3 separate regions of the Homo sapiens genome follow, and regions 2 and 3 are each linked to region 1. Evidence: promoter capture Hi-C in 16 types of primary human blood cells and fetal thymus (Javierre and others, 2016). All regions are on one chromosome and are shown on one strand. Each heading gives the region's core, a stretch centred on a gene start or on the middle of the fragment in contact. The rest is flanking DNA. Distances are from core to core; before and after follow the strand shown. Region 1 holds the start of THPO (thrombopoietin). Region 2 has its middle 26 kb from the start of LINC02069. Region 3 overlaps LOC107986163 (a long non-coding RNA gene).

Region 1 (3,171 bases), core at 210-2,709:
CCGCTCTGTGAGCGAGGACCCGGTTCCGCCCGAAGGATGAAGACTTGTCTTTAAAGATGACAACGTACAGGAAAGGTCCATCAGCCGATCTCCCCCTGCCTGGGCCCACAGCGCCCCCCAAACCCTCACCACCCTCTCTCACTGCCTAGCCTGCCTCCCTACCTTCTCTCTGAGGTCGCTCCTCATTCTTGTGTTACCCAGGACAGGGACCTAGCCAGAAACCGGCAGCATTCCCCCTTCTGTGGAGTGACAGTATCTCCCTCTCATTGTAACTTATCCTCAGGCGCATTCGACAGTCCCCTCTTGCTTTCTCACCCCCTTCCTTCACCCAAGGGACCCTCTGCCTCTCCAGCCCACTCCCAGCCTCCTTTCTCTTGGTTCCCTGGTCATGCCTGCCTCCCTGTCTCCTGTCTCTCCCTCCCACACACACCCACTATCCTCCCAGCTATCCCAGCACCCTCCTTCCTAATCTTGGGAGACATCTCGTCTGGCTGGACGGGAAAATTCCAGGATCTAGGCCACACTTCTCAGCAGACATGCCCATCCTTGGGGAGGAGGAACAGGAGAGAGCCTGAGGAAGTTCTGGGGGACAGGGGGATGATGGGATCAAGGTCAGGCCAGGAAGCCCCTGAGGACAGAGACTGTGGGGAGACTGGGACTGGGAAGAAAGCAAAGGAGCTAGAGCCAGGGCCAAAGGAAAAGGGGGGCCAGCAGGGAGGTATTTGCGGGGGAGGTCCAGCAGCTGTCTTTCCTAAGACAGGGACACATGGGCCTGGTTATTCCTCTTGTCACATGTGGAACGGTAGGAGATGGAAGACGGAGACAGAACAAGCAAAGGAGGGCCCTGGGCACAGAGGTCTGTGTGTGTAGCCATCTAAGCCACTGGACCCCAGCAGACGAGCACCTAAGCTCAGGCTTAACCCAGTGCACGTGTGCGCACATACATGTGCCCCGCACCTGACAGTCCACTCAACCCGTCCAAACCCTTTCCCCATAACACCAACCCATAACAGGAGATTTCTCTCATGTGGGCAATATCCGTGTTCCCACTTCGAAAGGGGGAATGACAAGATAGGACTCCCTAGGGGATTACAGAAAGAAAAGCAGGAAAGCAAGCATCCTGTTGGATTTCAGCAGCAGGTATGATGTCCAGGGAAAAGAAATTTGGATAGCCAGGGAGTGAAAACCCCACCAATCTTAAACAAGACCTCTGTGCTTCTTCCCCAGCAACACAAATGTCCTGCCAGATTCCTCCTGGAAAAAAACTTCTGCTCCTGTCCCCCTCCAGGTCCCAGGTTGCCCATGTCCAGGAAAAGATGGATCCCCCTATCCAAATCTTCTCCGTGGTGTGTGTGGGTGGAGGAGTGGACCCTGGTCCAGGCAGGGGCTCCAGGGAAGAGAAGGCGTCACTTCCGGGGGCCTTCACCAGTGTCTGGTGGCTCCCTTCTCTGATTGGGCAGAAGTGGCCCAGGCAGGCGTATGACCTGCTGCTGTGGAGGGGCTGTGCCCCACCGCCACATGTCTTCCTACCCATCTGCTCCCCAGAGGGCTGCCTGCTGTGCACTTGGGTCCTGGAGCCCTTCTCCACCCGGTGAGTGGCCAGCAGGGTGTGGGGTTATGTGAGGGTAGAAAGGACAGCAAAGAGAAATGGGCTCCCAGCTGGGGGAGGGGCAGGCAAACTGGAACCTACAGGCACTGACCTTTGTCGAGAAGAGTGTAGCCTTCCCAGAATGGGAGGAGCAGGGCAGAGCAGGGGTAGGGGGTGGGGTGCTGGTTTCTGAGGGACTGATCACTTACTTGGTGGAATACAGCACAGCCCTGGCTGGCCCTAAGGAAAGGGGACATGAGCCCAGGGAGAAAATAAGAGAGGGAGCTGCACTTAGGGCTTAGCAAACACAGTAGTAAGATGGACACAGCCCCAATCCCCATTCTTAGCTGGTCATTCCTCGTTAGCTTAAGGTTCTGAATCTGGTGCTGGGGAAGCTGGGCCAGGCAAGCCAGGGCGCAAGGAGAGGGTAATGGGAGGAGGGCCCACTCATGTTGACAGACCTACAGGAAATCCCAATATTGAATCAGGTGCAAGCCTCTTTGCACAACTTGTGAAAGGAGGAGGAAGCCATGTGGGGGGTCCTGTGAAGGAACCGGAAGGGGTTCTGCCAAGGGGGCAGGGAGGCAGGTGTGAGCTATGAGACAGATATGTTAGTGGGCGCCTAAGACAAGGTAAGCCCCTAAGGTGGGCATCACCCAGCAGGTGCCCGTTCCTGGGCAGCTGGTCTCAGGAAGGAAGTCCCAGAACTGTTAGCCCATCTCTTGGCCTCAGATAATGGAGTATTTCAGGACTTGGAGTCCAGAGAAAAGCTCCAGTGGCTTTATGTGTGGGGGTAGATAGGGAAAGAATAGAGGTTAATTTCTCCCATACCGCCTTTTAATCCTGACCTCTAGTGGTCCCAGTTACAGCTTTGTGCAGTTCCCCTCCCCAGCCCCACTCCCCACCGCAGAAGTTACCCCTCAACATATTGCGCCCGTTTGCCAGTTCCTCACCCAGGCCCTGCATCCCATTTTCCACTCTCTTCTCCAGGCTGAAGCCACAATACTTTCCTTCTCTATCCCCATCCCAGATTTTCTCTGACCTAACAACCAAGGTTGCTCAGAATTTAAGGCTAATTAAGATATGTGTGTATACATATCATGTCCTGCTGCTCTCAGCAGGGGTAGGTGGCACCAAATCCATGTCCGATTCACTGAGGAGTCCTGACAAAAAGGAGACACCATATGCTTTCTTGCTTTCTTTCTTTCTTTCTTTCTTTCTTTTTTTTTTTTGAGACGGAGTTTCACTCTTATTGCCCAGGCTGGAGTGCAATGGTGCGATCTCGGCTCACCACAACCTCCGCCTCCCAGGTACAAGCGATTCTCCTGTCTCAGCCTCCCAAGTAGCTTGGATTACAGGCATGAACCACCACACCCTGCTAGTTTTTTTGTATTTCGTAGAGCCGGGGTTTCACCATGTTAGTGAGGCTGGTGGCGAACTCCTGACCTCAGGTGATCCACCCGCCTTGGACTCCCAAAGTGCTGGGATTACAGGCATGAGCCACTGCACCCGGCACACCATATGCTTTCATCACAAGAAAATGTGAGAGAATTCAGGGCTTTGGCAGTTCCAGGCTGGTCAGC
Region 2 (3,171 bases), core at 417-2,916, 370 kb before region 1:
TTCTACTTCATCCACCTTTTCTTTCTTACCCTGGACTCCTTTCTGTTGAAGCCAATTTTGCTCACACAGTACTTACTACTTGCATCAGTGTGTGCATGTGCACCCCAGCAGCCACACATATTCACACCTGCGCATCCCTAAGCTGCTGTTTCTGACTCTCAACTTGTCTCTTCTCACCTGCAGGGGGAGAGGGAGAACCATGAGGCTGAGTCCCAGCCCTTGCTTTCCTACCCAGCCCCTTTTCCATCCAGTGTTCATATTGCTGCCGCTTCATGTACTTTACACTCCTGGCTACCCTTCTCTAGCATGCTTTGTGCTGCCTAATAAGTCGAGGGTGGTTAGAAAAAAAATCCCACCACTGTTTCTTCCTTTCCAAAGAAGGCTGTCCACTTACTTCTGTTTTGACTGATTCAAAACTGACTGATGTAATTCCCTTCTGCTTTGACAAATGGGGACCTCAGCAAAGAAGGAAATAGAGCCAGAGTGAAAAGAGAAGGGGTCAGGGGCTTTCTGGAGATTTATGAAGTTCCCATTCGAGCACAGGCAGCTGGACAGCTCTCCTCCTTGTGCAGGCCTTGAGTTTCAGAAAAACACAAGACTCTGAGACGCGCCTTCACTTGAGTCATTTGGGTGGAGTTGGTGTGTTTATCTGTGCTATCTTCCCATTTTCCTCTCCTTCTAGAGTTGAGAACAGTGAGTGGTGAGCGGCAATGTCTGCTTTCTTCTATTCTTGGGGTCCAGGACACTGGGGCAAGATGTAGAGAGATCATCCTTCAGTTCTCAAATCCCATTCTAACCCCCTTTCCCCACCCCCGGGTTTAGAGTTTTAATTTACTCTGTATTAATGACAATCTGGAGGGGAAAATGTGTAGGAAATTGATAGACTAGATCAGCCATGGTGGCTCAAGCCTGTAATCCCAGCACTTTGAGAGGCTGAGGCGGGTGGATCACCTGAGGTCAGAAGTTTGAGACCAACCTGGCCAACATGGTGAAACCCCATCTCTACTAAAAATACAAAATTAGCCGGGAGTGGTGGCACGTGCCTATAGTCCCAGCTACTCGGGAGGCTGAGGCAGAAGAATCACTTGAACCTGGGAGGCAGAGTTACAGTGAGCCGAGATCGTGCCATTGCACTCCAGCCTGGGCGACAAGAGCAAAACTTTGTCTTGAAAAAAAAAAAAAAGAAATTGATAGACTAGATTGTAATACAGCATGAATAACTCAACCATGCAAATTAACACAGGCTCACAAGCCTAGGCCTGAAAGAATCAGACCACTTATTTGCTTCTATTATTAAATAAGAATTTGCTTAATAATAGAAAATAATAATAATTTAAAATAAGGCCTATGGCCTTGTAACACCAGTGGTCTGCCAGAGACTGGATTGGTGTGACCTGAAGATACACTGTAAAGTGAAATATTCAATCAGACAAACCTTAGGAGTTTGCTTGTGTGCCTCCTTAACGTACACAGCCAAAAAACAGATTCTATTCACTTTCTCTTTTTTTTGAGACCAAGTGTCACTCTGCCACCTAGGCTGGAGTGTAGTGGCGCAATCTCCCCTCACTGCAACCTCCGCCTCCCAGGTTCAAGCAATTCTCCTGCCTCAGCCTCTAGAGTAGCTGGGATTATAAGCATGCACAGCCACGCCCAGCTAATTTTTATATTTTTAGTAGAGACGGGGTTTCACCATGTTGGCCAGGCTGATCTTGAACTCCTGACCTCAGGTGATCCAACCGCCTCAGCTTCCCAAAGGGCTGGGATTACAGGCATGAACCACCGCACCCGGCCTCATCTTCTTTTTAAATACTTCACTGAAAAAAGGTCTCAGTGTACTAAATTAATGGAAATGTTGGCTCTGTGCAGATAAGTGGTTTCCATCCTTTGGAGGCTGGCCTCCTTCTGTTTGTCTGAGCTCAGGTCTCAATGGGCATGGTGCCTGATGCCGAGTTAAGTGTCCAGCAGCCCCTGCCCCAGCCAAGCAGGGAGGCCGGGTGAGGTGGTCCCCCTAGTGGGGCACCAATGGGCTAAGGTAGGTGGCAGGAATGTCTCTTACCATGATCACAGGCCCTTTGAAGGGAGGGAAGAACCTACTGAGTTGAGAGTAGGTGTGTGCATCGAGTTCAGCAAATCGACAAAGCAGGTTCCAGTGCATTACTGGAGTAGGAGAATCTGAAGTTGCATCAAGGCCAGAGTGTGGAGCCAGGGAGTCATACAGCTGAGGACATTCTCCCCTGGCCTGGCCCTTATGCCCTAGACGCATGCCCTGCCTGTGGCCAGAAGAGCTGCGCACAAGGCACTGCCTGCTCATCCGTTCAGTGTCCATGGCTCTGTTCTGCCCCAGATACGGGCTCCCTCTTGGCCCCAGGCGCTCTCCAGTACATCCTTCCTGGCTTGTCCTACCTAGACTTGGGCACTGGTTCTATCTCTGCTTCATGACTGTCTTGGAAATCCCATTAGTCTCAGCCATCAAGAATTGCCCCTCTCCCCAGGTGCCAAAACCTACCTTGGTCCCTGCAGCTGCACCTGACTCAGGGGCCTGGAACACCATAGCATTCCAGACTCCTGGCCTGGGGGGTGGAATGGGGAGGTGGCGTGAAGAAGGGGTGGGAACTAGAAAATAAGAGACTGGGTTGAAGTGGACAAGGAGGAGAACAATTTGCGTGGGTATTACAAAGACAGCTAAAAATATTCTCCCTGGGTGCTCGGGGTGGGGAGTGGGCTGAGTGCTTTACAGGCCCCGCGGTAGCAAGATTGCAACATTCAATTCATTTCCAGTACCCCTGGGGATAAACTGAGAACCCCTGCTGTCAACCCCAATGATGTGGCCTCAGCCTGATTCTTTGGCTTTCAGGTATGACCTCTAAGGAATGACAGAAGGGTTGTTTAAGTGGAGAAAAATGTTTTCAAACTCCAAGCAGTGTGCTAAAGCACTTTTTTTGTCCATTCTACTTTTGCTCCAAGAATGTCTTCTTTTTTACTTCTGGAGGTCTTGATGCTGACAGCAAGCACCTGGCTTTTTCTGATCTGAAAGTCCTGTTTGTCGCCTCACAATGGGCCTTGCTTCTATTTTATGATATCCTCTATTTCACACCCTCAACACTTGTCAGCAGAGGATATAGGAAACAATCAGCTCTATGAACTGGGCGCTATCAGTATTTGCCTTCCGGC
Region 3 (3,171 bases), core at 444-2,943, 350 kb before region 1:
AGGGGATAAGGTTCAGCTGAGGAAGAAAGCACTTGCAGCCAGTGTCTAGGTTAAACATTTCCACCTTTACTTTCTCCAAGACGCGTCCCGGAAGGGCAGTCGGAAGGATGGCCTAGATCCCCAGAGCCAGCTTTGGGCTTGACCTGGCCAAACTCTGAGAGAAAGATCCTGGACCAAAAGTATAGTGTGAAAAGGAAATGGCTGCTCAATCACCATCTTTCTTTTTGTAGCCAGAACAAACTCTCAATAAACATGTTACCTTTGGCTTTTTAAAGTGGCAGTCCCATTGGAAGCAAAGGACTTACAAGACAAGGTCCTCGACAGGAACAAAAGAGTCACCCCCACCAACGCTCTTGCCAGAAATGAGCTGAAATTCTTGGAGAAGTCTCGGAGCCAAAATTCTCAGGGAGAAGTCCCAGAAGACTGCCCATCAGGCGAGGAAATGTAGGGAAAATGTAATGTGTAAAATGATGAGCTGGAGAACCATCAACGAGACTGCACTGAGCTATGTCTTAATGAGGCGAACTCCAAAGACGCTTTTCCTTTAATCTGGCATTTGAAACGAAACACTGCTAAGACGCCCCCACCTCACCCACCCCACCCTCATGCGTTGCCATGACTACTCAAGTTCTTAGACCATGAAAGAACAACCTCAGCATTTTCCTCTGCAACAAAAGAAAATTATTCCAGGTTTCTAGGTAAAGAACTCCAAGGAATGGGACCTGTTACTGGATAGCAGGTTCTTCAGAATTGCTAGGGATGAAATCTGAGCCTACAGGGACCACAGCTGTCTGAAAAGCCAGTGGAAGGAAACTGAGGGTGACAGGGCCCCCACTCTCACCCAAGCTCACACAGCCCATGCTCTGTCACCATGGCTGGTTCCCTCCCCTCAGCTGGACCTCATTTGCTCCTGCAATGAAGCAAGTTAAAAGAAAACACATCCCCTGTCCATATGGGAAGGGGCAGGGGGTGGGAGAGAGCAGGTCCCGGCTCAGTAGGTCCCAGGGTGGCAGCAAAAGGTGACTTCGCCTGCTCTCTAGTTTGGCGTGCTCTCGAGACAACCAAGGGAGGCCAACCTGTGGCATGGCTAGGAAGCCCCTCCAAGACCCCCTTGAAAGCCTGAGGTCCTGCTAATGAGGGCCAATCTAAGCTTTCTCCCAAATCCAGAAAGCAAAATCGAGGAAGCAACAGCTGGACAGGCAACCTGCTCCCTCACGCTCCCTCCTGAGCCTGAGCTTCAAGTGGAAACCCAGACACTGCTCTCGACGTCTCCCTTTCCTTCATCCTCCACATTCAATCCTTCATCGCCTTTTGAGACTACTTCCTAAACATTTCTCAAATCAATCCACCTCTTTCTCCATCGCCATTGTCTTGGTTCAGGCCTCACCATCTCTAGTCTGAAGTGTTCCTCCAGACCACGTCCACACTAGGGCGAGAGTGATCATTTCAGAACACAAATCTGATCAGGTCACCTCCTGCCAAAAATGCTTCAGTGGCTCCCATCGCCTTTGGGATAAATTTTCACATTCGTTAGAAAGACATGCAAGGCCTTTCATGATGGACGCCCCCATTCCTACTCACTCTACTCCAGACATAAAGAAAACATTTCCCCAACTTACACATTCTTGTGTAAGAATGGGGCCTTCACAAATTGTTCTCCTCTTCTTAGAAAGGCCTTCCCTGACCCAGCATGCTGGATATCTTCTGCTTACCACGCCAGATCCACTCTCCAGCCTGCTCTGTGCCCCAAAGTCTGCCCTGTATAGATCACATCAATCAGCTCCAGTGCCCTCTGGCTCCTGGTTGGGTTTGGCCAATGGGGACCACCAGCAAGAGTTTGGAAGACAGGAAAGAATGAGGTCAAGGCAATTGATTCCCTCCTTGTAAGGTTGCATCAGGCTGGCTGATTCCCTAGAGGGAAGCTGACCTGAATGACACGACTCTCCCTCTTTCCAGGGTACAGGCTGCCCCTCTCCCATGTCTTCTGGCCTAGGGGTGGAAACAGCTCTGCTGCCACTGACCCTGAGTTTCTGTACTATCTTGTGTTGTTCTCCCACACTCTGCCTAAACCTTTGCAAATAACCTCTTTGTGCATAAACCCTCATCAAATCATCCTAACTTAAGGGGGCCTGTTCCCTTTTAGGACCCTGACCAATGCACTCATCCTTTGCCTTTGCCAAATCATAGCCATTCCTTGGGACTACACTCAGGCATCCCCTCCTCCAGGAAAGCTTCCCTATTCACCCCAGGCTGGTTCAGCTGCCCTTCCCCGTGGGCTCCCAGAGCTTCTGTATGCTCCTGTTGCAGCTCTTCCCACACTACTGCAAAAGCCAGTCATTTGTACTAAATCTGAGTCTGCAGAGGGTGACTGAAGTTGAGTATCTTTTGTGGGTCTGAGGGGAAGGTTTGGAATGGGGTAGAGTGAGGAGTCTGGCTTCTGCTGAGGGATGGCCCCCCAAGTCACCTCCAGGAAGGGTATATGGTTTAGTTGAGGAAGAAAGCACCTGAGATCAGTGTGGGATGGGACAATGTGTCGTTGCTCATCCCTGCACCCCAGAATCTGGCACAAAGCAGGCCTTCAGAAAACATTTGCTGAGTGAAGGAAAGAAAAAGTTGTAGCTCAGAGTGAGACCCTGCCAGAGACCCACGGGGAAAAAGTGCAGCATCCCTTTGTGGTTGTCAGTTGTAGGAGCTGGTGTTCCTCAGACCAGGACACAGGGGGTCAGTCAGATCACAGACCAAAGGGCCAGAGGAAAGGCTGTTATTTGAAGAAGACCCCCGCCGGGAGCGGTGGCTCACACCTGTAATCCCAGCACTTTGGGAGGCCGAGGCAGGCGGATCATGAGGTCAGGAGATCGAGACCATCCTGGATAACACGGTGAAACCCCATCTCTACTAAAAATACAAAAAATTAGCCAGATGTGGTGGTGGGCACCTGTAGTCCCAGCTACTCGGGAGGCTGAGGCAGGAGAATGGCATGAACCCGGGAGGAGGAGCTTGCAGTGAGCCGAGATCGCACCACTGCACTCCAACCTGGGTGACAGAGCAAGACACTGTCTCAGAAAAAATAAAAAAATAAAAAATAATAAAAATAATACAATAAAAAAGACCCCCAACTCCAGGACATGAAAACCATGTCCGTGTGCATGGGGAGAGGGCAAGGGAGATGTG

Evidence for each region. The method cuts DNA at HindIII sites, captures the fragments that hold promoters and counts their contacts. A CHiCAGO score of 5 or more calls a contact.
Region 2: a fragment that was not itself captured here is called in contact with the fragment with the promoter of THPO in region 1 in 2 of 17 cell types (megakaryocytes and M1 macrophages); the score reaches 5.2 in megakaryocytes.
Region 3: a contact is called between a fragment that was not itself captured here and the fragment with the promoter of THPO in region 1, in 3 of 17 cell types (M2 macrophages, naive CD4 T cells and M1 macrophages). The highest score is 6.2, in M2 macrophages.

Annotation. Positions count from the first base shown.
Region 1 is chr3:184,376,495-184,379,665 of GRCh38, reverse strand. THPO (thrombopoietin) reads left to right here and starts at 1,459. Exons shown (of 6, transcript NM_000460.4): 1 at 1,459-1,591. The HindIII fragment of the contact is 10,240 bases long and covers 1-3,171 here.
Region 2 is chr3:184,745,742-184,748,912 of GRCh38, reverse strand. No RefSeq gene overlaps it. Among named protein-coding and RNA genes, the nearest start is that of LINC02069, 26 kb to the left of the region's middle. RefSeq lists an enhancer at 2,243-2,744. The HindIII fragment of the contact is 7,396 bases long and covers 1-3,171 here.
Region 3 is chr3:184,729,765-184,732,935 of GRCh38, reverse strand. All of the region lies in intron 2 of LOC107986163 (a long non-coding RNA gene), which reads right to left. Among named protein-coding and RNA genes, the nearest start is that of MAGEF1, 19 kb to the right of the region's middle. The HindIII fragment of the contact is 1,081 bases long and covers 1,153-2,233 here.